7 separate regions of the Homo sapiens genome follow, and regions 1, 3, 4, 5, 6 and 7 are each linked to region 2. Evidence: promoter capture Hi-C in 16 types of primary human blood cells and fetal thymus (Javierre and others, 2016). All regions are on one chromosome and are shown on one strand. Each heading gives the region's core, a stretch centred on a gene start or on the middle of the fragment in contact. The rest is flanking DNA. Distances are from core to core; before and after follow the strand shown.

Region 1 (3,263 bases), core at 487-2,986, 430 kb before region 2:
AGCAGGGACTGAACTTTTTCATTATGATGATAACAATAAAACAGCTACTACTATGTTATGTGCCAGCTATTTCTAGTCTTTATGAATACCCTATGAAGTAGTTATTATTTTACCCATTTACAGACGAGGACACTGAGGCTCAAAAGCTTTAGATAACTTGCCTGGGTCATGCTGTTAGCATGGTGGGTTGTAAAAATGGGCCCATTGTTCCCTTTCCTGTTCCACAGCCCTTTGCCATGTGAGTTTTTGGCTCCTCTCTGCAAGAGGTGGAATTTATTTCTCTATCCTTTGGTCTTGCCTTGGCCACATGACCTGCTTTGGCAAACGAGACATTAGTCAGCACGGCCCAAGCCGAGGCTTGTGAAATGCTGTGTGCTGGGGCTTGTTCTGCTGCTGTCCGGAATCCTTCTGCTACTGCTGCGTGAATGAGAGCCCAGGTTAGCCCTCTGGAGGATGAGAGTCACCAGGCCCAGGCATCTCCATGGCCCCAGCTGACACCAGGCCAACCCTCAGACATCTAAGTGATGACATCCTAAATCATCTAGCCCTACTTGAGCCAGCACAGACCAGAAATGCTCAGCTTGACCTCAGAATCATGAGAAATAAGTCGTAAACCACTGAATTTGGGGGTGATTTTTATTTACTTGTTTTTGAGACAAGGTCTCACTCTGTCACCCAGACTGGAGTGCTGTGGCACAAACATGACTCACTGCAACCTCTATCTCCCAGGCTCAAGCGATCCTCCCAACTCAGCCTCCCAAGTAGCTGGGACCACAGGCATGTGCCACCACAACCAGCTAGTTTGTTTTATTTTGTTTTTTTCCGTTTTTTCTAGAAGCGAGTCTCACCATGTTGCCCAGGCTGGGTGATTTATTGCACAGCAAAGCTAACTGATAGTGTTAGTGAGGAGAAAAGATGGGGCTGGACCTGGATTTTCTCCCTCCAGCCTTTCCCATGTCAGCAAATAACACACATGCCCTAAACCTACAACTTACCTTCCATTTATACTTCTTCATCACTCATCTCATTCAAACCCTCAGGCAAGGCTCCCAAAATACATCTCGAATCTTCCTTCCCAGCACCTCCTCTGCCATTTCTCTAGGCCAGCCTACCTCTTCTATCATCTAGACTGAGAGTCGGCAGACTTACTCTATAGAAGTCCAGATAGTAAATACTTGAGGCTTTGCAGGCCATACAGCCTCTGTTACCGACTTAACCTGCAGCTACAGAAGGAAAGCAGCCAGAGTCAAAAGCAAATGGGTGATGCTGTGTTCCAGGAAACCTTGACTTACAGACACTGGAATTCGAATCTTTACAATTTTATAAAAATTATATATGCCATAAAAAGACTCTACTTTTGATTTTTTTTCCAAACATTTAAAAATGTAAAAACAACTCTATGCTCACAGACCGTATAAAGACTGTATCAGGCAGCAAGCCGGATTTGGTGGATGAGCCAGTGTGCTGACTCCTATTATAATAGCTCTGTCTATAATAGTCCAGCCAGGCTGTGCTTCAGCACTTGCCTCCTGCATTCTGCTCTCCAAACAATGCTGATCTGCTTCTGCTGCTGCTGCTGCCGCCGCCGCCTCCTCCTCCTCCTCTTCTTCTTCTTTTTCTTCTTCTTCGTCTTTTAAATAATTTTAATTAAATTAGGCCAGGTACGGTGGCTCATGCCTGTAATCCCAGCACTTTGGGAGGCCGAGGCAGGTGGATCGTTTGAGGTCAGGAGTTCGAGACCAGCCTGGTGAAACCCCATCTCTACTAAAAATACAAAAATTAGCCAGGCATGGTGGCGTTGGCATGCACCTGTAATCCCAGCTACTCGGGAGGCTGAGGCAGGAGAATCACTCGAACCTGGGAGGCAGATGTTGCGGTGAGTCGAAGTGGCGCCATTGCATTCCAGCCTAGGCGACAAGAGCAAAACTCCATCTCAAAATAAATAAAATAAAATAGATAAGATAAAATAAAAAAAAATAGAGGTGGAGGTCTCACTATGTTGCCCAGGCTGGTTTCGAACTCCTGGGCTCAAGTGATCTCCTGCCTTGGCCTCCCAAAGTGCTGGGATTACCGGTGAGAGCCACTGCACTTGGCCCCGCTCTTCTTAAAAGGCAATGGAATGGCTTTATTCCCCTGCTTATCCCTGTCTTTCCATCTTAGAGTAAAATCTAAACTCCTTACCATGGCATATTGAGTTTGACATCATCTGGCTCCCCCGCCCACTTCTGCAGCCTGCAATTCCTTTCCTTTCCCCACTGCCTTCTGGCCACCCCTGTGTTCTTATAGCTCCTGTAACATGCTGTTCTTTCCTACCCTGGGGCCTTTGAACATGCTGATCCTTCTGCTGGAATATTCTTCCTGTGGCTCTCTGCAGTGCTGGCCACGTTTCCTCCTTTCCTCCTTCAAGTATCATGTTATGTGTCGCCCCTCAGAGGAGCCCTCTCTGACCACACAATCCAAAGTTGCAATTCTCCTCCTGGCTCAGTGATCCTCTGTTTCTTCATGGCACTGTCAATCTGTAATTTTCATACTAACTTTCTCACTTATTAATTGTTTGCCCTTTCTCTAGACTGTCAGCTCCATGCATTTTGCAAAAAACTAGCACAAGGCAGACATGAATATTCAATAAGACATTTGTCGGGTAAAGGAATGAATTACCACCTATGATGGTCAATCTTAGGTGTCAGCGTAACTGGATTAATGACACCCAGACAGCTGGCGAAGCATTATTTTGAGGTGTCTGTGAGGTGTTTCTGGAAGAAACTGGCATTTGAATCAGTGGACTGAGTAAGGAAGATCCATCCTCACTCAATGTCAGGGGGCACCGTCCATCAGCTGAGGGCCAGGATAACAAAAAGGCAAAGGAAAGGAGGATTTGCTCTGTTTTCTGGAGCTGGAACACCCTTCTTCTCCTGCCCTTGGACATCAGAACTCCAGCTTCTCCAGCTTTTGGACTCTGGGACACCAGTGGCCTCCTGGATTCTCAGGCTTTCGGCCTGAGACTGAGTGCTATCAGGTTCTCTGGTTCTGAGGCTTTTGAACTTGGACGGAGCCATGCTACCAGCTTCCCTGGTTTTCCAGCCTGCAGACAGCAGACCGTAGGACTTCTCAGCCCCCATAATTGTGTGAGCCCATTCCCCTAATAAATCCCCTGTCATATACCTATATCTACAAGCCCTATTGGTTTTAGCTCTCTGATTTATACACCGTCTAACTACAATCCCATGACTTTCTTCAGCATCGCATCCTTATCTGTACTGCCT
Region 2 (3,666 bases), core at 1,067-3,566:
CTACTAAACAATCTCTGTATAAGGAGGCTGGCACACCCAGTACACACACACACACGTTTTGTTTGGGGTCTGTAATTGTGGTTCACGTGGAGGCAGACGTTGTTTGTTTTTTGTTGGAGGAGACATCTGAAAACATCTAATCTCATCCTGAAGCGCCCAGCTGGTTTCAAACTGCTTTATTTCAGGTGCTTCTAAAAGACTTGGTGAGTACAAGGAAGTGATTCTGCTAATTTAGAACAAACCCATCGGTAGTTAAAATTTAATCTTAAAAGAAACTTGGAACCAAGCATCTAACCAAAAGAGCTAAAAGCAAAGTGCTAGACTCTGGGATAATACCCACAATATTCTCTAATCACTGAACTAAACAAAGATGCTCCTGCGCTCATAAGGCTAAAAACAAAAATAACCTTTAAAAATGGGGGGTCTATAATCTGAACTCTAAGAGTAACTTGTAAGGTCTTCTTGATCTCCCTAAAGCCAACAATTTTGAAGCGTATTTGGAAATCGCTCATTTCTAATTTTTATTTCTCCCACTCCTCACAAGAACCAGGAAATATAACAGACCCTTCCTTCCTTGAATTTAGTTAAGCTTTAACTAAAACTAAGCATTTAACTAAAGGTAAAATGTTTGGTCTCTTATTTTCAAACAGAAAAATAAAGTCTGTATTAGCCACTCAATAAAAAAGCATAATGTCAAATCAGAAGTCTCTAGAGCAGACCCTAGTCAGCTTCAAAGCACTTTCACAGAGTGAATGGTCTTAAGCGTACCATAACTCAAAGCCCCTAGATTAAGTCTTTCAGTATAAAGTAGCATATACATTTAAAATGTTATTAAATTTCTAATAATTAGATATTAAAAAGACTCAAGATGCTGATACTTTGTAGCTTACAGCATTAAACCAAAGAAGAACCAAAAACTGAACAGTATCAAATCCCTATTACATACATATCTACAGTCATCAAGAAACTACCGGTTTATCTTTTCTTTCACTAAGGGGCCGCCTGCATGTTCACGGAAGTTGTAGTAACTTAAGAAAACCAAAACTGTTATACAGTGAAAACAGTTTGTATGCAGATAAGCTGGTACCAACTGCTTCTAGACAGATGCAATTACAGTGTAATATTTCTAGCAAAGTCTGGTAAGGCTACGCCTGCAAATCACTGACCAAAAATGGTAACAGTGTGTGCACACTAACGAAAACGACAAAATGTTCCAACTGATAGTTCAGTTGAGAATACGTTTTTAAATAGCTAATTAGAGTGACAGTGTAAAGGGGGAAAATATGTAAATTAAGCAAAATGTCCATCATATAGAATATACTAATGAGCACCTGTTTACTTTCTGGTGACTCCAGTATTTTAATGGTTTTTAAAGCTCTTAAATTTGGTTGTATCAGCATCCCAGCATCATGCCCACACCTTGCGCACCAAGTTCTGGCAGAGTCCAACTGTCTACAGGTCAGAAAAAAAATTCTAACCATACACGGACAGATCGGGCAGGGAAGGGTTAAAACAGACACTGCCAAGCTTGACAAGCACGACGAGAGTGCTGCTGGAAGCCGATTGCCAGATAAAAAGAAAAAAACAAAGGAGCTGCAAGGCCACCCCGTTCTAAATCATGCCAGGATCCTGCTCGTTAGCGATCATTCCGTGCTCTAGGACTGTTCCATAAAGGCTTTATCTTCCTTATTGAGATGGACAGACCTCAAGGGCTGGAACGCGCACAAGTCACCAAGCGCCTCAGCGCCAGCTCTGGGGAAACCCACGCCAACAAGGACGGTGGCCGGATTCCGACGCCCCCCGCCCCCCACTCCCCGGCCTCGGTGTGCAGACCCCCGGATGGATTTCACAGAGCGGGTGGGGGCGCTCGACCCCAGCCAGTTGTTGCAAGGCCGGGTCTGGAGACACCCGCAGAGGCCACGCTCAGGGCGGCGGCCTCGCCCCAGCTGGGAGCTGCGCAACAGCCGCGGATCCACCCCGGGGCGCGGGGGCCCAGCCAGGACGGCGGGAGACGGAGGCCCAGAGACCCCCCCTCACCCGCAGCCCGGACACTGCAGCCGGACCGGGTCCCTCCCCGGGCTGAGGCACGGCTCACCCCCTTAGCCCCGACTCCGCGGCGCCCCAGAGACACACTGCTCCCGGCCGCCTCGGCCCACGCCTCGGCCTCCCTCCTACTCACCATCTTCGCCGCGGCGGTCGCAGGGACGCGGGGGAGGGAGCCGGCGGGCAGCGAGTATGCAGACCGTCCTCCTCACGGCTGCGGGACCGAGAGACCCAGCGCTGAGCTGACGCGGCGGCGCGAGCTTACCCCGGGGCGGGCGCGCCTCAGGACGGAACGCGGCTGCGCACGTCACGCACCGCCTGCCGTTGCTACGCAACCAGCCGGCCAGGCAACGCCCCCCCGGCGGCTATCCAGAGTCTCGGAGGGGAGCTTCCCTCATCTGCTGAAGGCTGCGGGGCAGGGTCCGCCTCACCAGAAAGTGTTTAGGGGTGGGGGTGCGTCCTCTCTGGTCTGCAGGAGGCTAGAAGGCGGACTGGGCTGGCTCCTGCTGGCGAGGGGCGGGCAAAAGATGATGGGGGAGGGGTGGCCTTCCTTCGCCTCCTCGGCGGGGCCACCTGACGCCCCACCCACTGTGCAGGCATGGCCCGCGCGGGGAGGCAGCCACCTGGCCAGGTGTGCCTGCCGCTGGGGCGGGGCGAGGCCGTGGAGGGGAAAAGGAGGGGAGAGCCGGGGGAGAGGGGTACAGAGTGTGGGAAGGAGGGGGATTTGGAGGGGAGAGGCGAGGGGCACATAGTTGGGGGAGGAGGAGGATGGAGAGGGGAGGGAAGAGGTGAGGGAGAGGGGACAGTGTGGGGAGAGGAGGGGGATGTGGGGGGAGGGGCGAGGGGGCACTTAGTGGGGGAGGTGGGGGCAAGGGGAGAGGTGAGGGAGAGGGACACAGTGGTGGAAGGAGAGAGATGTTGGGGGTTGGGAGGGCAGGGCCCGAGGAGGGGGAACGCACTGGGGGAGGACCCACGGGAGCGGAGTCGCGGGCCGCGGCAGCGGGGACGCCTCCCGCATTTTTTACCTACTTTGGTGCGATTCCCGCCGCCCTCCCCTGATTGGCCCAGTCTGGCTTGTCCTGCCCTCGCGTGAGGGGAAAAAAGTCTGCACATTTTTCCTCCTTCCCGAGGCGACCGTGGCCATGCAGAGTGCTCTGTGAGTCACCGTTAATTTCAGGTCTGGAAAAACAAGGAGCATTTATTTATCTTTGGGAACTGCCGGGGAAGGAGGCCGGCGGCGCGCAGGGGTGTGGCTGGGAAAGGCCGCGCTGTCCCGGGACGGTGGCGCCAGCCCCGCCGCTCAGTTCTCCGGGTTTTTAATTTGGAATTGTGTTTTTCTAATGGGCGGTTGCGTCGGAAACACGGTTTTCAGAGGGCCCAGATGAATCCCAGCGTTTTTGCTGCGGGTGTTTTTGTGGGAAATAAAGGGAACAAAGAATTTTATAAATTAATTTAGGTTACCGAGAACATCATGGCCTCGACCAAAACTATTTTAATTCTCCAAATATGAGACTTTTGGACAAGATGGTCAGTATTTTTTTTTCCGGCACTACGTAAAATCTAGGTTGTATGTGGCTTTTGTTCTGCCCCACTCAACATAGGAACCCATTTCTCATTACCCTC
Region 3 (3,227 bases), core at 51-2,550, 410 kb before region 2:
CCTGTAATCTCAGCCACTTGGGAGTACAAGACAGGAGAATCGCTTGAACCCAGGAGGTGGAAGTTGCGGTGCCGCACCATTTCACTCCAGCCTGGGCAACAAGGGTGAAACTCCGTCTCAAGAAAAAAAATAAATAAACAAATGAATCTGTGCATCTGCCTAGAACAGCTCTGTAATATACAAAGAGGCACATTTGCTGCAGCACTGTTTGTAATTGTGGAAAACTAGAAATAATCTGAGTGTTCCCAATAGGGAAATGGGTAAGGCTCATTCATACAAAAGAATACAAAAAACGAGTTAAGAGAGAAGTAGGGCCAGGTGCAGTGGCTCAAGTCTGTAATCCCAGCACTTTGGGAGGCTGAGATGGGTGGATCACCTTAGGTCAGGAGTTCGAAACAAGCCTGGCCAACATGGCAAAACCCTGTCTCTATTAAAAATACAAAAAAAATTAGCCAGGCACCTGTAATCCCAGCTACTCAGGAGGGCGAGGCAGAATTGCTGGAACCTGGGAGGCGGAGGTTATAGTGAGTCCAGATTGTGCCACTGCACTCCAGCCTGGGCAATAGAGCGAGACTCTGACACACACACACACACACACACACACACACACACACACGAGTAGTAGATTGGGCAAGGTGGCTCACGCCTGTAATCCCAGCACTTTGGGAGGCTGAGGTGAGGATCATACTTCCTTCCCAGTTCTAGATTAGTCTGGGCAACACAGCAAGAATTATTTCTATAAAAAAGTAAAAAAAGAAGTAGATCAAAATAATAATGTAACATCTACTGAATACATAGTATGCATTAAGCACTCTTCAGGGAATATCTCATTTTATAACAAGGTAGGTACTACCATTTGTCTTATCTTAAAGATGAATAAATTGAGACAGAGAGCGACTAAGTAATTAATCTAAGGTTAAGATGAAAAGCCAAGCCAGAATCCAAACTCAAGCAGCTGGCTCCTGAGCCCAATATCTTACTAGCTTTGTGATGCTGTGTATCTAGAGATGTCTGTATATTATGACTGTCACAGTTCTGCATGAAATCATACATAAGTGCTGCCTATGCATGTGTATTATACATAGCATTATGTGTGTGCTAAGAGTATAGAGGGCACATATTCTTAGGTTCTCCTGATGCTGTGTCACAGATCATTGGTCATTAAAAAAAGAAAAGAACAAAAAAGAGCGTAGAAGGCAGACTAGAAGGAGGTAGTGCCAAACTTAAAACAGCAATCGCCTTTGGCCACGGGTGGTTCAACAGAATTTGGGGTTAATCTGTAATATTATATTTCTTTAAAAAAAAGATCTCCATGTAATCACAGGGATAAGGAAAAAAAAAGTTTTAAGCAAATGCACCAGTGTTAAGTGTTAATTGTGGGTGGTGGAAAATTATTACATGAGAAAAGAATGTTACAGATCTATATAAACTAATAAAAGATTTTTTTTTTTTTTTTGAGATGGAGTCTCACTCTGTCACCCATGCTAGAGTGCAGTGGCGTGATCTCAGCTCACTGCCAGCTCCGCCTCCCGGGTTCACGCCATTCTCCTGCCTCAGCCTCCCAAGTAGCTGGGACTACAGGCGCCTGCCACCATGCCTGGCTAACTTTTTGTATTTTTAGTAGAGATGGGGTTTCACCGTGTTAGCCAGGATGGTCTCAATCTTCTGACCTCGTGATCTGCCTGCCTTGGCCTCCCAAAGTACTGGGATTACAGGTGTGAGCCACTGCGCCCAGCCTGATTTTTTTTTAAATAATTTTTTTAAGTGGAAAAAAGCAGGGTATATCATCTTGTGTTAAAAAATGAGTGTGGGGACAAATGATTGTACATATGGTCATACAATATCTCAGGAACACAGGAGCTTTTTAAACAGAGGTTCAATACAGAGTGGGTGTGGGGAGTTACTCTTAATAGCATATTACCCATTAAAAATTCAGTGGGGTCGGGCACAGTGGCTCACACCTGTAATCCCAGCACTTTGGGAGGCCGAGGCAGGCAGATCTCCTGAGGTCAGGAGCTTGAGACCAGCCTGGCCAACATGGTGAAACCCCGTCTCTATGAAAAATACAAAAATGAGCTGGGTATGGTAGCAGGCGCCTGTAATCCCAGCTACTAGAGAGGCTGAGGCAGGAGAATCACTTGAACCCGGGAAGCAGAGGTTGTAGTGAGCCAAGATCTCGCCATTGTACTCCAGCCTGGGCGACAACAGCAAAACTCCTTCTCAAAAACAAAATCGGCCAGGCATAGGGGCTCACGTTTGTAATTCCAACACTTTGAGAGGCTGAGGTGGTGGATCACTTGAGCCCAGGAGTTCAAGACCAGCCTGAGCAAAATGGTGAGACCCCACATCTACAAAAAATAGAAAAATTAGTTGGGTGTGGTGGTGCATCCCTGTAGTTCCAGCTATTTGGGAAGCTGAGGTGGAAGGACAGCCTGAGCCTGGGGAGTTAGAGACTGCAGTGAGCCCTGAATGCATCACTGCACTCCAGCATGGGTGACAGTGAAAGACTGCCTCAAAAAAATAAACTAAAATAAAATAAAAAATTATTAGGCCCGGTGCGGTGGCTCACACCTGTAATCCCAGCACTTTGGGAGGCCGAGGCGGGCAGATCACGAGGTCAGGAGATCGAGACCATTGTGGCTAACACGGTGAAACCCTGTCTCTACTAAAAATACAAAAAAAAAAAAATTAGCCGGGCGTGGTGGCATGCGCCTGTAGTCCCAGCTGCTGGGGAGGCTGAGGTAGGAGAATGGCGTGAACCCGAGGCGGAGCGTGCAGTGAGCCGAGATCGCGCCACTGCACTCCAGCCTGGGTGACAGAGCAAGACTCCATCTCAAAAAAATAAATAAATAAAATTAAAAAAATAACAAAAATAAAAAATTCTTAGCTGGGCGCGGTGCCTCACACCTGTAAATCCCAGCACTTTGGGAGACGGAGACAGGCAGCTTGCTTGAGTTCAGGAATTCTAGATCAGCCTGAGCAACATGGCAAAACCCCATCTCTACAAAACATACAAAAAAATTAGCTGGGCGTGGTTGTTCGCATCTGTGGTCCCAACTACTCAGGAGGCTGAGGTGGGAGAATCGCTTGGGCCTGCGAGGTGGACGTTGCAGTGAGCCGAGATCATGCCACCGCACTCCAGCTTGGGCAACTGAACAAAACTGTGTCTTAAAAAAAAAAAATTCTAGGCTGGGTGCAGTGGCTCACACTTACAATCCCAGCACTTT
Region 4 (3,178 bases), core at 555-3,054, 320 kb before region 2:
TGGGGCAAGGCCATGCTGCAGAAGAGCATGTGGGAAGGGAGAGATTTTTGTGGCCATCTTTGGAAGACACAGTTGGCCATAGTGACAGAGGCAGTATTCAGACCCAGGCAGTCTGACTTGAGAAGCTGATTGCAACCTCTATGCTGCCTCCACTTGAGAACACATTCTGAGAATTCTTGACGTTTCTAAGGGACTGGAGAGCCAGCAATAATGGCAAACCTAAGAAATGCTATTTTTGTTTATTATGACCTCTTTTTAATGTCCAGACTGATGTGGCTGGGTGAATTACAGGTCTCAAGCAGATTCCAAAATGTAGAGACAGTAACCTTGATGTTGACTTTTGGAAAATTATAGAGCAGAGCGTGACATAAACTCATTTGTGAACAGCAGGGAAAAAAAATGCAGTGATGGTGAGGTGGGAGAGTTTGGTGGGGATGAGCTGTGCCCAGCTGTGGTGGGTGGCATAATGGCCCCCTAGAGATATCAGGTCCTAACCCTTGGAGCCTATAAATGTTACCCTGTAAGAAAAATGGGTCTTTGCAGAAGTGAGTAAGAATCTTGAGATAAGAGATTATCCTGGACTCTCCTGTGGGCCCTAAATGCCATCACAAGTGTCCATATAAGACAGAGTTAGACTTGACTCACACTCAGAGAAGAAAGCCATGTGAAGACAGAGAAGAGAAGGATTTGAAGACACTGGATGTGAGAATTAGAGTGATGTGGCCATAAGCCAAGGAATGCTGTAGCTCCCAGAAGCTGGAAGAGGCAAGGAACAGTTTCTCTCCTAAAGCCTCCAGAGGGAGCACAGCCCCACTGATGGATTGATTTCAGTTTGGTGGCACTGATTTCAGACTTCTGGTCTCCAGGACTGTGAGGTAATAAATTTCTGTTGTTTTAAGACCAAAAGTTCATGGTAATTATAGCAACCACAGGCAACGAATACACAAACCAACTTTCTTTTTAGACAGTACTGGATAATGGGGTAAATAAATTTGTGTCCAGCCAGCATTTTATGTTACTGTTTTTTTTTGTTTTTTGTTTTTTGTTTTTTTGTGAGACAGGGTCTTGCTATGTTGTTTATGCCAATCTCGAACACCTGGGCCCCAGTGATCCAGTCTCAGCCTCCTGAGTAGCTGGGACTACAGGCATAGGCCACCACCCCCAGCCGGCATTTTAATAAAGGATTGGCAAACTCACTGGTAATGACGGTGTTTTTTGGTGGGATTTATGGCAGATTGCACGTCTATCAGCAAAGTGTTTGCCATCAAGGAGTCCGTTGCCCTGGTGGTCATGGAGTACCAAAGGGCTCTGTGGTGAGCTCTGCCCTAGCCAATCAACGTTCAGTCCACTTTCTGGATGAAGATGGCAGAAAGTACAGGGTCAGATGTGCAGGTGACACATATTGGAGGGAACAGTGAAAGTGACAGCCAAATGGGAGATGAAAGTGATTTCGATAGATTGGAACTTTGGAGTAAGGCCAAGATCAATTGATATCAGAGAAAGTTAGGTTTTAAAGAGAAATCTGGTGTCCAAGCATAGAACCAGTTGAGGAGGTCTGGGCGGTCTGGGCGGTGTGTGTGAAAAGAAGCTCAGGGTTTCAGTCGCCACCAGCGTGGTGCTGTTTTTGTAAGGGGAACCTAATTTGGGGCACTATGGGACGATAGTGTCCAGTTCATAGAAGCAGATGGTCCCAGGGTGATCACGGCTGGTTGAAGCATACTGAACTACTTTGCTTCATTTTTAATACCCCTCCCCTTTTTGAAAATGTGTAGCAGGACAATATGGGATCAGGAAACCAAGTGTTCTGACTCTGCATTGTCTGCCCCTCCGTGTTCATTCTCTGACCTCCTCTACTCTGACCCCAGGAGGCTGACCTCTCTGGACGAATATTAGCTAGCTAATGCTGTGGAACAAATCATCCCGTGGAACAAAACATAGTGGCCTAAAGCAACAATAATCATTTAATGTCTCACAGTTTCTGTGGGTTGGGAATCCAGGAGTGGCTTCTGACTCATGAGGTTGGCATCAAGATGCAGCTGGGTTTGTAGTCACCTGAAGGCGTGGCTGGGGCTGGAGATGGCTTCCCACCACGGATGATGAGTTCGTGTGGCTGTTGGCAGGAGGCCTCAGTTTTTCACCTTCTGGACGCCTGCACAGGGCTGCTTAAGCAGCCTCACAACATGGCAGCTGACTCTCGCCATCGTGAGTGATTCAAGAGAGAGCAAGATGGAAGCCGCAATATCTATGATGACCTGGTCACAGTCTGTCATTTCCACAACTGGTAACACAGGTCAGCCCTATTTAATGTGGGAGGGGACTACATGAGGGCAGGATTGCCAGGAGGTGGGGTGCATCTGGAAGGCTGGCTGCCACAGGAACAGTGGGAGGGGATGTGCTGTGGCCAGAAGAAAATCAGGACAGACCAGAGCTGGAGGGTATGATCTGCCCCAACTCAGGTTGGCCAAGTTCAAGCCCCAGTTCCGGGATGGAGAGCTCCATGCCTTGGCCCTGCCAGTGGGACTTCTGCATGTGCTGGGAGAGAAGAAAGGTTTCCTTTGAGCCCTGCCAGGATCTTGTTACAGTCTCCACAGAGCAAGACTTCAGGGTCAGGGTGTTGCATTATGAAGACAGGAGCCGTGGAGCCTCCAGCAGGAGACAATGGCTTCCATTGAGATAATATGACTTAACGAGGCCACAAGTCCACAGCCACCACTCAGGAAACAATAACCATTTCAAGAGGGCACAGGAGGTGTTACAGAGAGGCGTGGTGACACACCCCACCCACCGTGGCCTCAGAGATGGTGCTAAGGGAGAAAGTTTGCTGGGATTTGTCTGAAAAGGTCAGTTATTAAAAACAGCTTCTGGCTGGGCGCGCTGGCTCACACCTATAATCCTACCAGTTTGGGAGGCCGAGGTGGGCGGATCACTTGTGGCCAGGAGTTCAAGACAACGCTGGCCAACATGGTGAAACCCTGTTTCTAATAAAAATACAAAAATTAGCTGGGTGCGGTGGCATGTGCCTGTAATCCCAGCTACTCAGGAGGCTGAGGCAGGAGAATCGCTTGAATCCGGGAGGCAGAGGTTGCGGTGAGCCAAGATCATACCACTGCACTCCAGCCTGGGTGACAGGGCAAGACTCTGTCTCTAAATAAATAAATAAATAAAACAGCCTCTTAAA
Region 5 (3,307 bases), core at 36-2,535, 340 kb before region 2:
AGTATTTATCTAATGGCCTTCTTGAGGGGCATTTGGGTCTGTTTTGATCAAACAGCATCACAATGAGGCAACAAATAACCAAGTACATACATGGTTTCATCCGTGTGCAAGTTTATCGTAGCATAAATACCTCCTGTTGTATTTGTACCTCCAGTGTGCATTTGTAGTTTTGATAGTTTTTGCCAAACCAGCTCCTATGGAAGTCAAACCAAAGTACATTCCCACCAGCAATACAGGCAGATAGGAGAGACCGATTTGGTGGGGCAAGCCAGCGGCATCCCTAGGAATTTGGGGTGGGGAATTCACCTAGCTTATTTAGCTTTCCTCAGTGCAAACATACAGTAAACTTCTTATGGGAAAGGGGCTTGGGGACTTTTGGCACACCTTGTGCAGGGGCAGTGGTCAAATAGCAATATCTATCCCTGTGTAGGAATGAAGACGTGAAAGACAGTGTCAGGAGATTGAGGCCACCAGGTGGGTTTCCCCTGGGGTTCTCCCAGCAGCCTCCTGTTGGAGCCCACTCTCCTTCCCCAGGCTCCCTGACAAAGCTGCCGAAGGCTCCTTCTCTGCTCCCTCAGCCCAAGTTATCACCCCTCAACCCACCTTCAGAACTGGCCTCTCAGGAGTCACTTCTCCACTCGGGCCCCATCCTACAGCCCTCTCCAGGCATTAATCTTACTGGCTGGCCCCCTTGGCTCTTTTAACTCTCTGCTGTCTGTGGCCACCAAGCTTCTTACTTCTTTGACCCCCAGAGGACTTCATTCTGACCTCTGCCTGTGCATCTCTGCTCATTCTTCCTTTTCTATTCTTCAAGTTCGACAGCTCTTCACGGTTTTCACCTTGGTCCATTTCTCTTCCCATTCTGTGTGCTCTTCCTATTTTACTGTTTTATTATTTTTACCACAAAGTTTCTTATTTTTTTCTTTATTTTTCTTTTCTTTATTTTTATTTTATTCTTGTCCTTTTTTCTTTTCTGCTATTTTTTTATATTTTTATTTTTGATTCATTTTATTTATTTATTTTTGAGACGGAGTCTTGCCCTGTCTCTCATGCTGGAGTGCAATGGCACGATCTCGGCTCACTGCAACCTCCGCCTCCTGGGTTCAAGCAATTCTCCTTCCTCAGACTCCCGAGTAGCTGGGATTACAGGTGCCTGTCACCACGCCCGGCTAATTTTTTTTTCTTTTTTTTTTTGTATTTTTAGTAGAGACAGGGTTTCACCATGTTGGCCAGGCTGGTCTTGAACTCCTGACCTCAGGTGATCTACCCGCCTCAGCCTCCCAAAGTGCTGTTCTGGGGTTACAGGCGTAAGCCACCGTGCCGGCCAATTCATTTTAAATAAACGTTATTGAGGTATAATTTACATACAATAAAACTCATTCATACATTTTAAGCATTCAGTTGGACAACTTTTGACAAATGCATGCACCTAAACAAGATATAACACCTGTCCATCACCCCAGAAAGTGTTTTAGTCCCCCACTTGCAGTCACCTCAGTCCCAGTTCATCGTTGATCTGCTTTCTGTAACTATAAATTAGTTCTCTTTGTTTAAAAATTTTATATAAATGAATCATATGGTAGGCACTCTTGCATCCAGCTTTTATTTTACACAGTGATTTTAAGACTCATCCATGTTGTTGCATCTATTAGTAATTTCAATCTTTTTATTACTATCCCTTTCTATGAAGAGAACAAATTTTGTTTACCCATTTCCTAGTTGATGGATTACTTGAATTGTTTCCAATTTTTAGCAATCGTGAATAAAGCTGTTACGCACATTTGGATACAAGCCTTTTAAAAAGGCAACCTATTATTCCAATGTAGACTTCCACAAGCTTTTGAGCAATCAAATCCAACAGCATTATGGTGGCCACTAGCTACTTACGCCTATTCACATTTGTGTACAAGTCTTTTTGTGGGCCTATGTTTTTATGGTACTTCAGTAAATACATAACAGTAGAATTGCTGGGTCAAATGGTGGGTGTTTGTTTAGATTTAAAATAAACTCCAGTAGTTCTCCCAAGCAGTTGTACTATTTTATTTTATTTGTATCTTTATTTTTTGAGACAGGGTCTCACTCTATCACCCAGGCTGGAGAGCAGTAGCATGATCACAGCTCACTGCAGTCTCGACCTCCCTGGCTCAGGTGATTCTCCCACTTCAGCCTGCTGGGGTAGTTGGTATTACAGATGCATGCCACCACACCCAGCTAATTTTTTGTATTTTTAGTAGAGATGGGGTTTTGCCACATTGCCCAGGCTGGTCTCAAACTCCTGGGCTCAAGCAGTCTGCCCGTCTTGGCCTCCCAAAGTGCTGGGATTACAGACGTGAGCCACTGCATCCAGCCTGTACTATTTTAAGTTCCTGCCAGTGAGCTAGGAGTTTCAGCTGCCCTACATTCTAACCAATACTGGTATTACACATCTTTTTATTTTCAGCCATGCTTGTGAGTGTGAGGTAGCATCTTACTGTGGTTTCATTCTGCATCTCCCTGAAGACTACTGAGGGTGAGCATCTCTTCCTGTGCGTGCTGGCCATTTGCATGTCCTTTGTGAAGTGTCTGTTCATGTCTTTTGCTCAGTTTTCACTGTTTGCCTTCCTATTAGTGAGTTGTATGGGTTCTTTATGTATTTGGAATGCAAATCCTTTTTCAGATACAGGTGCTGTGAACATTTTCTCCCAGTCTGTAGTTTGGCTTTTCACAGCAGGAAGTTTTCACCCTGATGAAGTCTGACCCTCTGCCATGGTGGGCCTGGCCTCCAGCCCCCACTCACTCCTTTGGGGTCTCCTTTAACTCATTCTTTTAAAAAAATTTTAAAATAATTTTTATTGATATGGAACTTTTCATGAATTCGTGTGTCATCCTTGCAGGGGCCATGCTAATCTTCTCTGTATTGTTCCAGTTTTATTTATTTATTTAGAGACAGAGTGTCACTCTGTTACCCAGGCTGGAGTACAGTGGCGTGATCTCGGCTCATTGAAACCTGTGCCTCCTGAGTTCCTGCTTCAGCCTCCCGAGTAGCTGGAATTACAGGCATGCACCACCACGCCCGGCTAGTTTTCATAGTTTTAGTAGAAACGGGTTTCATCATGTTGGCCAGACTGGTCTCGAACTCCTGGCCTCAAGTGATCCGCCCACTTCAGCCTCCCAAAGTGCTGGGATTACAGACGTGAGCCACGGTGCCCGGCCTTCATTCCAATTTTATACATGTGCTGCCAAAGACAGCACTTTGACTCCTTTCAATCCTTTGCTTTCCTGCTTTGCATATCAGCTTGCCCAGCTCTTGCACCCAGTCTTGCATAAA
Region 6 (3,350 bases), core at 630-3,129, 460 kb before region 2:
AATAATAATAATAAAAGAAATCATGACAAAATTTCCAGTATCGAGGGACTGTACTTTTCCTATTCCTCAATTGATGACATTTGTTTCCATTTGCAGATTTCCTTCCTTCCTTCCTCCCTTCCTTCCTTCCTTCCTCCTTCCCTTCCTTCTTTTTTCTTTTCTTTTCTTTCCTTTCTTTCTTTCTCTCTTTCTTTCTCTCTCTCTCTCCTTCCTTCCTTCCTTTCCTTTCCTTTCTTTCTTTCTCTTTCTTTCCCTCTCTTCTTTCCTTCCCTTCTTCCTCGCTTCCTTCCTTTCTTCTTTCCTTCCTTCTTTCCTTTCTTTCATTTCAGGCAATCCTACCATGAGTATATCTTGTATATCCTTCGCCTCCCTGTGTGAGTCTTCCTGTAGGATAATTTCCCTGATGTGAAATTGCTGGGCCAAAGGGTAGATACAGTGTGATTTTTTTTTATGGCCATTGCCAAATTGCCTTCCGGGGAGGCTGCCGTAAATGTCCACTCCCACAAGCATGCCTGTAAAAATCTTCTCGCTGAAGTTCACCTTCGGATAAAGTTCAGTAAAGGAGCAGTTGAGCTATAGCAAGGAAAGCAACTAGAAAGTTCCAAAGTGTAGAATTTTCCTTGAGGATGTATGGCACGAAGCTTGATTTGCTATTAGGGGTAAAAAAATGGAAAACAACAAACCCTTTTTGATAACCCAATAAACAATATTTTTCGGACTAGGTAGGACAGGCTGATGGTACAAAATTCAAAAGGGCAGACGGCGAAAGCAGTCCCCCCTCTCCTCCACCAGCCACATTTTAAAAAATTATCCTTTCCTTTTGTTGTGAAATAAGTAACACGTACAAAAGTATACATATAGGTACAGTTTAAAGACAAATCTGCGAAATACTCATGTACCCAGCAGCCAGCTTATGTTTTTGTTTTGTTTTTTTTCTGAGATAGAGTCTCGCTCCGTTACCCAGGTTGGAGTGCAGTGGCGCCATCTCAGCTCACTGCAACCTCTGCCTCCCAGATTCCAGCGATTCTCCTGCCCTGGCCTCCCGAGTAGCTGGGATTACAGGCACTCGCCACCATGCCCGGCTAAATTTTTTTTGTATTTTTTAGTAGAGGTGGGGTTTCACCATATTGGCCAGGCTGGTCAGCAGCCAGCTTACGAATGAGGCTTATCTGCATTATGTTGAGCTGTATCCCATTGAGAACTTAGTCTATCTCGGCTAATCCTCACAGCAGCCATGCAAGAGCTATGACACCCCTGTGACAGGTGAGGAAACGGCCTTTCGGGCTGGAGCAGCCGCCCCCGTTTCAGTTAATAAGCAGCAGATCCGCAGCCTGGCTCTTCGGTGGCCTTGGACTCACAGTCGTGTGGGTGTCAGTAGGTTAATGACGTCTAGCGCATGGGTGGTGCTCTTCAGTTCCCATGTCCTGCTTTAGACACAGGCACGGTTGGCCTTTGCGTGAGAGCACCAAGATGGGTGAGCCTCAGTGGTGGGAGGGGCCTTGGCATCAGTCCGTCTTGCCCAGGGCTCCTCTCTGGCCACCCACGTCCCCCTGAATGTGTGGGTGATGGGGGTGCTCTGGGAGGGAGGTGCTTGTTCCCAAGCCTAGAAAGGGTCACCAAGGGGCTGCCGCATGGCAGTGCCCGCACCAGTGAATGAGGGGTGAATGGTGGCGTTTACACTAGCAAATGGGGAAGCAGAAGTGCTGGGGCACAGAGCAGTGCATTTGGCAAAAGTCAGAAGTGCCATAACTGGAGCTTTCTGGGCCTATGTCTCCTTTCCATCTCTGTCTGCGAGTCACTCCTCTTCCAAGCCAGGCTCTAATTCTACCCACTCCCTGGAAAAAAAGCCCCCACTGCCATCATCTCTCTTGTTTGCATGATGCAGGGCTTTGGAATCTTCTAGCGTTTGCTATCCAGGCCTTGCTGGGTACTCTGCTCATAGAAGATGCTCAGAGGCTGTGTTGACTGAAGAGAGGAAGGAGATGTGGCCCTGTGCACATGGGGCTGAGTGGTGGCCTGGCTGGCCTCTCCTCGGGGGCAGATCACCTTTGAGGATGGGAACCTCCAGGAGTTTGTTGCATCCAGGTTAAAGCCTGATGTTAAGTGTGCCAGCTTCCCCATATTTTTAGTTTGGATGTTTTAAAACAGTAGTCGGTTATTTCTACTAACTAGTGAAAGGAGCAACTAATCTCTGGGTGGATTTCTGCTCTGATGAGCTGAAGGTTGGAAATCGGGTTTGCCGCTTGATCTACTGGGTAGTGGGAGCCAGCTGCTCGCTGCTGCATGGGCCCAGAAGGCCGGGAAAACACAAAGTCTGCATTACAGTGCAAACATGAAAGCTAGAGCGGGCGCATTCCTTAGGAGAGGAGTCTGTAGTCCTTGCCTATGTGGAAAACTAGTCCCAAAGATGTGGCCTTTCTTTCCTGGAACCAACAGAGTTCATCCATTCATTCGATATTTTGATTTTTAAAATATTGCCTTAAAACTTTCTTAACCTTGATTGGTGAGGGTTGGTTTGTTTGTTTTCTGTTTTTCTGAGACAGGGTCTCACTCTCGCCCAGGCTGGAGTGCAGTGGTGCGATCATGGCTCACTGTAGCCTTGAATTCCTGGGTTCCAGTGATCTCTCCCACCTTAGCCTCCTGAGTAGCTGGGACCACAGGGGCATGCCACCATGCCCAGCTAATTTTTTACTTTTTTGTAAAGACAGGGATCTCCCCATGTTCGCCAGGCTAGTCTCGAACTCCTGGACTCAAGAGATCCTCCTGCCTTGGCCTCCCAAAGTGCTGGGATTACAGGTGTGAGCCATGCACCCATCCTAGAATAGTTTTAAGAGAAAAGGTGGGAGATTCATTGTCATTACACTGCCCAGAAGGAACCACAGTTAGTACGAAAATTATTATTATTAATACTGGCAGGTGGTTGGAGATGGGAAGTAGTACAGACAGGGACGCAATGGCAAGTGTAAGCCTTCACCACCCTCCAGACCGTCTCTCCAGAACCCCAGGTTTATGTTTCGGAAACATGTACATCCGTGCATATGCCAATGTGAATGTGCATTTATTTAGAACTCTCGTTTTCATACTTGGCTGCACACTAGAGCCTCCTGGGGAAGCTTTAACAAATTCTCCTGCTCAGGCAACACCCAGAGATGACATATATTTATTAATCTTAAAATACATATGTAGGCCGGGCGTGGTGGCTCATGCCTGTAATCCCAGCACTTTGGGAGGCCGAGGCAGGTGGATCTCCTGAGGTCAGGAGTTCAAGATCAGCCTGGTCAACATGGTGAAACCCGGTCTCTACTAAAAAAATACAAAAGTTAGCTGGACATTGTAGCAGGCACCTGTGG
Region 7 (3,629 bases), core at 736-3,235, 480 kb before region 2:
ATTTTCCTGGGAGAGGTCCCCTATGCACATTGCGTATTCCCAGGGTTTGACTCCGGGGTGGGCTGAGGCGCATTTGGTTTTGAACTGAGGTTTGAGGCTTCAGCTGGGATCCAAAGGAAAGACCTCTTTAAAGAAGAAGCTGCCGAAACCGTGCGGGCCGGCAGCTTAGCGGTAAGTGTGAGGGTGAGGTTCAAAGTCAGCTGGCCTGAGGCTCTTCCGGGCCAGGTGGGGTTAAGTGGGAGGGAAAAATTTGCCTGAGGCTGGTAGCTCTGCCCTTCGGGAGATTCTACAAAGTGCCCCACTTGCATATTTATCACCAGGCTGGAAGGACAATTGCAACGTTGTTTTGGGAGCCTCTGCAGCTAGTTTGCCCCTCTGTCCCCCAATTGCCCAGATTCCCCTGGAGAGAAAGTGACAGATTCTCATCCAGTCTCTTAACAAATATTTTAGGCAAACTCTTCTGCCTCAGGCACACAGGGCCGTTGGAATCCTGGATTAAAGGAAGACGTAAACCAATCTTATTTCCTAGATTAGTTGCCTGTGTGCTGGGGGAAGGGGGGCGGGAGGCACAGTTCACTCCTGAACCGTTAAGAGTCTTCTTTCCATAGTTTCCAGGGGAATTTTTATTTACTGGGGATGTTTAGGTTCCCTCTTTCTGCCTCTACCCCCAAAAAGGAAACATTTTGGTGTTAATATGCTCCAAGCCTCCAGAATTATTATCAGCCATGGCATTGGCAGTTTTCAAATGACTGACCAAATTGCCTGTGACTTAGCACGTTGTATAATTATAAAGTTCTTTCCAAGGCATGCTGAACTCACAATTTCTCTAAGAATTAGTTTCTTTTCTTTTCTTTTCTTTTCTTTCTTTTTTTTTTTTTTTTGAGATGGAGTTTCGCTGTTGTTGCCCAGGCTGGAGTGCAATGGCTGGATCTTAGCTGAGTGCAATGGCTGGATCTTAGCTCACTGCAACCTCTGCCTCCCGGGTTCAAGTGATTCTCCTGCCTCAGCCTTCCGAGCAGCTGGGATTACAGGCATACGCCACCATCGCCGGCTAATTTTGTAATTTTAGTAGAGACAGGGTTTCTCCATGTTGGTCAGCCTGGTCTTGAACTCCCGACCTCAGGTGATCCGCCTGCCTCAGCCTCCCAAAGTGCTGGGATTACAGGCGTGAGCCACCGCATCCAGCCAAGAATTAGTTTCTTAGGCAGTGGGCTCCCAGGACCACAAGAAGGGCAGGTTTGAGCTATTGCCTGGCACAGAGAAGCAACACTCTGCCCGTCTAACACCTGGGGTGTGCAAGGCAGCAGGAGGTAAAAATGCTCCCACCCTGGTGTTCCTTCCAGAATCATCTGGCAGTAGCGGTTAATCATATAAGCTCTGGCTTTGTCACTTCTTAGCTGTGGACCTTGAGCAAGTGGCTCACCCCTCTGAGCCTCGGTTTCCTTATCTGTAAGATGATAATGATACCTACTTGATAGCATCGTGAGGATAAATGAGTGGAGGGTAGAACATGGTATGTGCCCAATAACCATAGATAGTATTCAGGTTAATAGGGAGACACAAACATTATTAACTCTGCTGCAGGACAGTGAATGTGAAACCAGAATTCCAAACAAAGACGTGACCGATTTGAGTGGGGAAAGTGTCCTGATGTGGATTTGAAGGCTGGGGAGAAGGGAGGCGGGTGGGCCTGAGGGCAGTGTGGGCTGAGTCCCGCAGCTGGAGCATAGAAAGGATGAAGCTCTGGTGGCTGAAGATAGGAAACAGGGCTTGCTGGGGTCAGGGAGAGAGTTGGCGGTAAAGAGCTGGAAATGTAACCAGGACAGGGTGAGATGGTGAAGGGGCCAAGCCAAGAAATATGGGTGCTCCTGCTGGGCAGAGGAGAAGCTCTGGATGATGTAAGAAGGAAAACCTCAATCGGGTTCCTCTTTTTTTTTTTTTTTTTTGAGACAGAGTCTCTCTCTGTCGCCTGGAGCTGGAGTACAGTTGCGCAATCTCAGCTCACTGCAAACTCTGCCTCCCAGGTTCAAGTGATTCTCCTGCCTCAGCCTCCCAAGTAGCTGGGATTACAGGCACCTACCACAAAGCCTGGCTGATTTTTGTATTTTTAATAGAGACGAAGTTTCGCCATGTTGTCCAGGCTGGTCTTGAACTCCTGACCTCAGGTGATCTGCCCACCTTGGCCTCCCAAAGTGCTGGGATTACAGGTGTGAGCCACCGCGCCCTGCCATTTGGGTCCCTCTTAACGGCTGTGTTCATGGATCATTATCTCTTCTGAGCCTCAGTTCCTTGATCTGTAAAGTGGAGGACTCAAAGAATCAGCCTCCTAGAAGAGTTGCATAGATTAAATGAGATAGTGGGTGTAAAGTGTTTAGCTTTCTGTGCATGTGTAAACTGCCCAAGAGGAAGTTAGCTGACAGTGACATACAGCAAGTTTTAATGCCCAACATTTTGTTGGCTGTAAGGACATGGGATTCACTAACTTGATCGTGTTGATGGGTGGATCTGGAAAAGGAGTCCGAGGTGCAGATTAGGAAATGTGGCTGGCCCTTCCCAGCCTACCTGCCTTTTGACGGTGTGCCTCAGGGCAGATTGTGAAATTGTCTCTTTACTACTGAGAATTCTGTAATTTGCCAAACAAATAAGGGTGAGAAGATGATGTACATTCCAGAGAGTGTGCATGGCAGGTCCCTTTTGTGCTGGATCCATCTGCAGGTCTTCAGCTGCGGGGTAGAGAAACCCAGGAAATACTAATCACCATTGTCCTTTGGAGGCTTATTAGAAAGTAAGTAACTCTGAAGTTGGCTGATAGTATTCATACGTGATTCTCTGGCTGGTAGGACCCAGGTCCAAGTATGGAGTACCAAGTGAATTTGTCCTCTCACCCTTTCCTATTCTGTTCTTTCTTTTTGTCCTCTCCCATGGGTTCTTCAAAATAAATTAAGTTTAGATTCTTTCAAAAGTATGCTTGGCCTTTTACCCGGCTCTCTATCGAGTCTTGTAGTGGTGCAGATGTGTGTCTACGGAGTAGTCCCCATACCCCCATCACTTTGTATTATTTACAATCTCAAAGGCATAGTCATACGTATCTGCCACCCAGCCCCAACAACCATTAACCCATGGCCAGTCCTGCCCAGCCACACTCCCACCCCTTGCCCCATGCATGATTCTGAAGCAAATCTAGGACATCATACCATTTCAACCATAAATAGTTCAGAATGTGCGTTTAGTGGATAAAGACCAAAATTCATGATCACACCCACATTACCAATTGTGTTCACATTACTAATTGTCTCATAAATTAATACTTTTCCCCTCCAGTTTGCTTAATCAGGTCCACATAATGTCCACACATTGTAATTGATTGGCATGTCTTTTGAGCCTCTTTTAATTTCATACATTTTCCCTCCATCAAGTTAATTGTTGAAGAAATGGGTGATTTGTTTTGTAGAGTCCCCAACAGTCTGGATTTTGCTGAGCGCATCACCATGTGCCTAATGTTTCTCAGTCCCCTAGGTTTTCTCTAAACGGATAGTTGGATCTGCAGCTGCAGCATCCAGTATCACATGTGACTATCACAGCCATAGTCAATTAAGAATTAACAATTAGACCAGGCGCCATAGCTCATG

Evidence for each region. The method cuts DNA at HindIII sites, captures the fragments that hold promoters and counts their contacts. A CHiCAGO score of 5 or more calls a contact.
Region 1: a contact is called between a fragment that was not itself captured here and the fragment with the promoter of DSTN in region 2, in 11 of 17 cell types (total B cells, naive B cells, monocytes and 8 more). The highest score is 16.2, in total B cells.
Region 3: a fragment that was not itself captured here is called in contact with the fragment with the promoter of DSTN in region 2 in 14 of 17 cell types (fetal thymus, activated CD4 T cells, total CD8 T cells and 11 more); the score reaches 11.6 in fetal thymus.
Region 4: a fragment that was not itself captured here is called in contact with the fragment with the promoter of DSTN in region 2 in 2 of 17 cell types (total B cells and naive B cells); the score reaches 6.4 in total B cells.
Region 5: a contact is called between a fragment that was not itself captured here and the fragment with the promoter of DSTN in region 2, in 7 of 17 cell types (M0 macrophages, naive B cells, total B cells and 4 more). The highest score is 8.9, in M0 macrophages.
Region 6: a fragment that was not itself captured here is called in contact with the fragment with the promoter of DSTN in region 2 in 1 of 17 cell types (naive B cells); the score reaches 6.2 in naive B cells.
Region 7: a contact is called between a fragment that was not itself captured here and the fragment with the promoter of DSTN in region 2, in 2 of 17 cell types (monocytes and neutrophils). The highest score is 6.2, in monocytes.

What each region holds. Positions count from the first base shown.
Region 1 is chr20:17,998,778-18,002,040 of GRCh38, reverse strand. No RefSeq gene overlaps it. Among named protein-coding and RNA genes, the nearest start is that of MGME1, 31 kb to the right of the region's middle. RefSeq lists an enhancer at 1,615-2,116. The HindIII fragment of the contact is 3,176 bases long and covers 149-3,263 here.
Region 2 is chr20:17,568,725-17,572,390 of GRCh38, reverse strand. It overlaps DSTN (destrin, actin depolymerizing factor), which reads right to left and starts at 2,316. Exons shown (of 4, transcript NM_006870.4): 1 at 2,180-2,316. The coding sequence starts at 2,182. It also overlaps a transcript of BFSP1 not described here. RefSeq lists silencers at 1,876-2,165, 2,186-2,375 and an enhancer at 2,786-3,353. The HindIII fragment of the contact is 8,997 bases long and covers 1,530-3,666 here.
Region 3 is chr20:17,979,038-17,982,264 of GRCh38, reverse strand. The region is part of intron 3 of MGME1 (mitochondrial genome maintenance exonuclease 1); the gene reads right to left. Among named protein-coding and RNA genes, the nearest start is that of MGME1, 12 kb to the right of the region's middle. The HindIII fragment of the contact is 5,928 bases long and covers 1-3,227 here.
Region 4 is chr20:17,887,083-17,890,260 of GRCh38, reverse strand. No RefSeq gene overlaps it. Among named protein-coding and RNA genes, the nearest start is that of SNORD17, 74 kb to the left of the region's middle. RefSeq lists an enhancer at 1,440-2,639 and a silencer at 2,522-2,816. The HindIII fragment of the contact is 4,582 bases long and covers 1-3,178 here.
Region 5 is chr20:17,903,385-17,906,691 of GRCh38, reverse strand. It overlaps the pseudogene RNU6-192P. Among named protein-coding and RNA genes, the nearest start is that of SNORD17, 58 kb to the left of the region's middle. RefSeq lists an enhancer at 2,474-2,533. The HindIII fragment of the contact is 1,108 bases long and covers 732-1,839 here.
Region 6 is chr20:18,029,164-18,032,513 of GRCh38, reverse strand. The region is part of intron 3 of OVOL2 (ovo like zinc finger 2); the gene reads left to right. Among named protein-coding and RNA genes, the nearest start is that of OVOL2, 27 kb to the left of the region's middle. The HindIII fragment of the contact is 2,472 bases long and covers 644-3,115 here.
Region 7 is chr20:18,052,019-18,055,647 of GRCh38, reverse strand. All of the region lies in intron 2 of OVOL2 (ovo like zinc finger 2), which reads left to right. Among named protein-coding and RNA genes, the nearest start is that of OVOL2, 4.1 kb to the left of the region's middle. RefSeq lists an enhancer at 1,655-2,155. The HindIII fragment of the contact is 9,441 bases long and covers 1-3,629 here.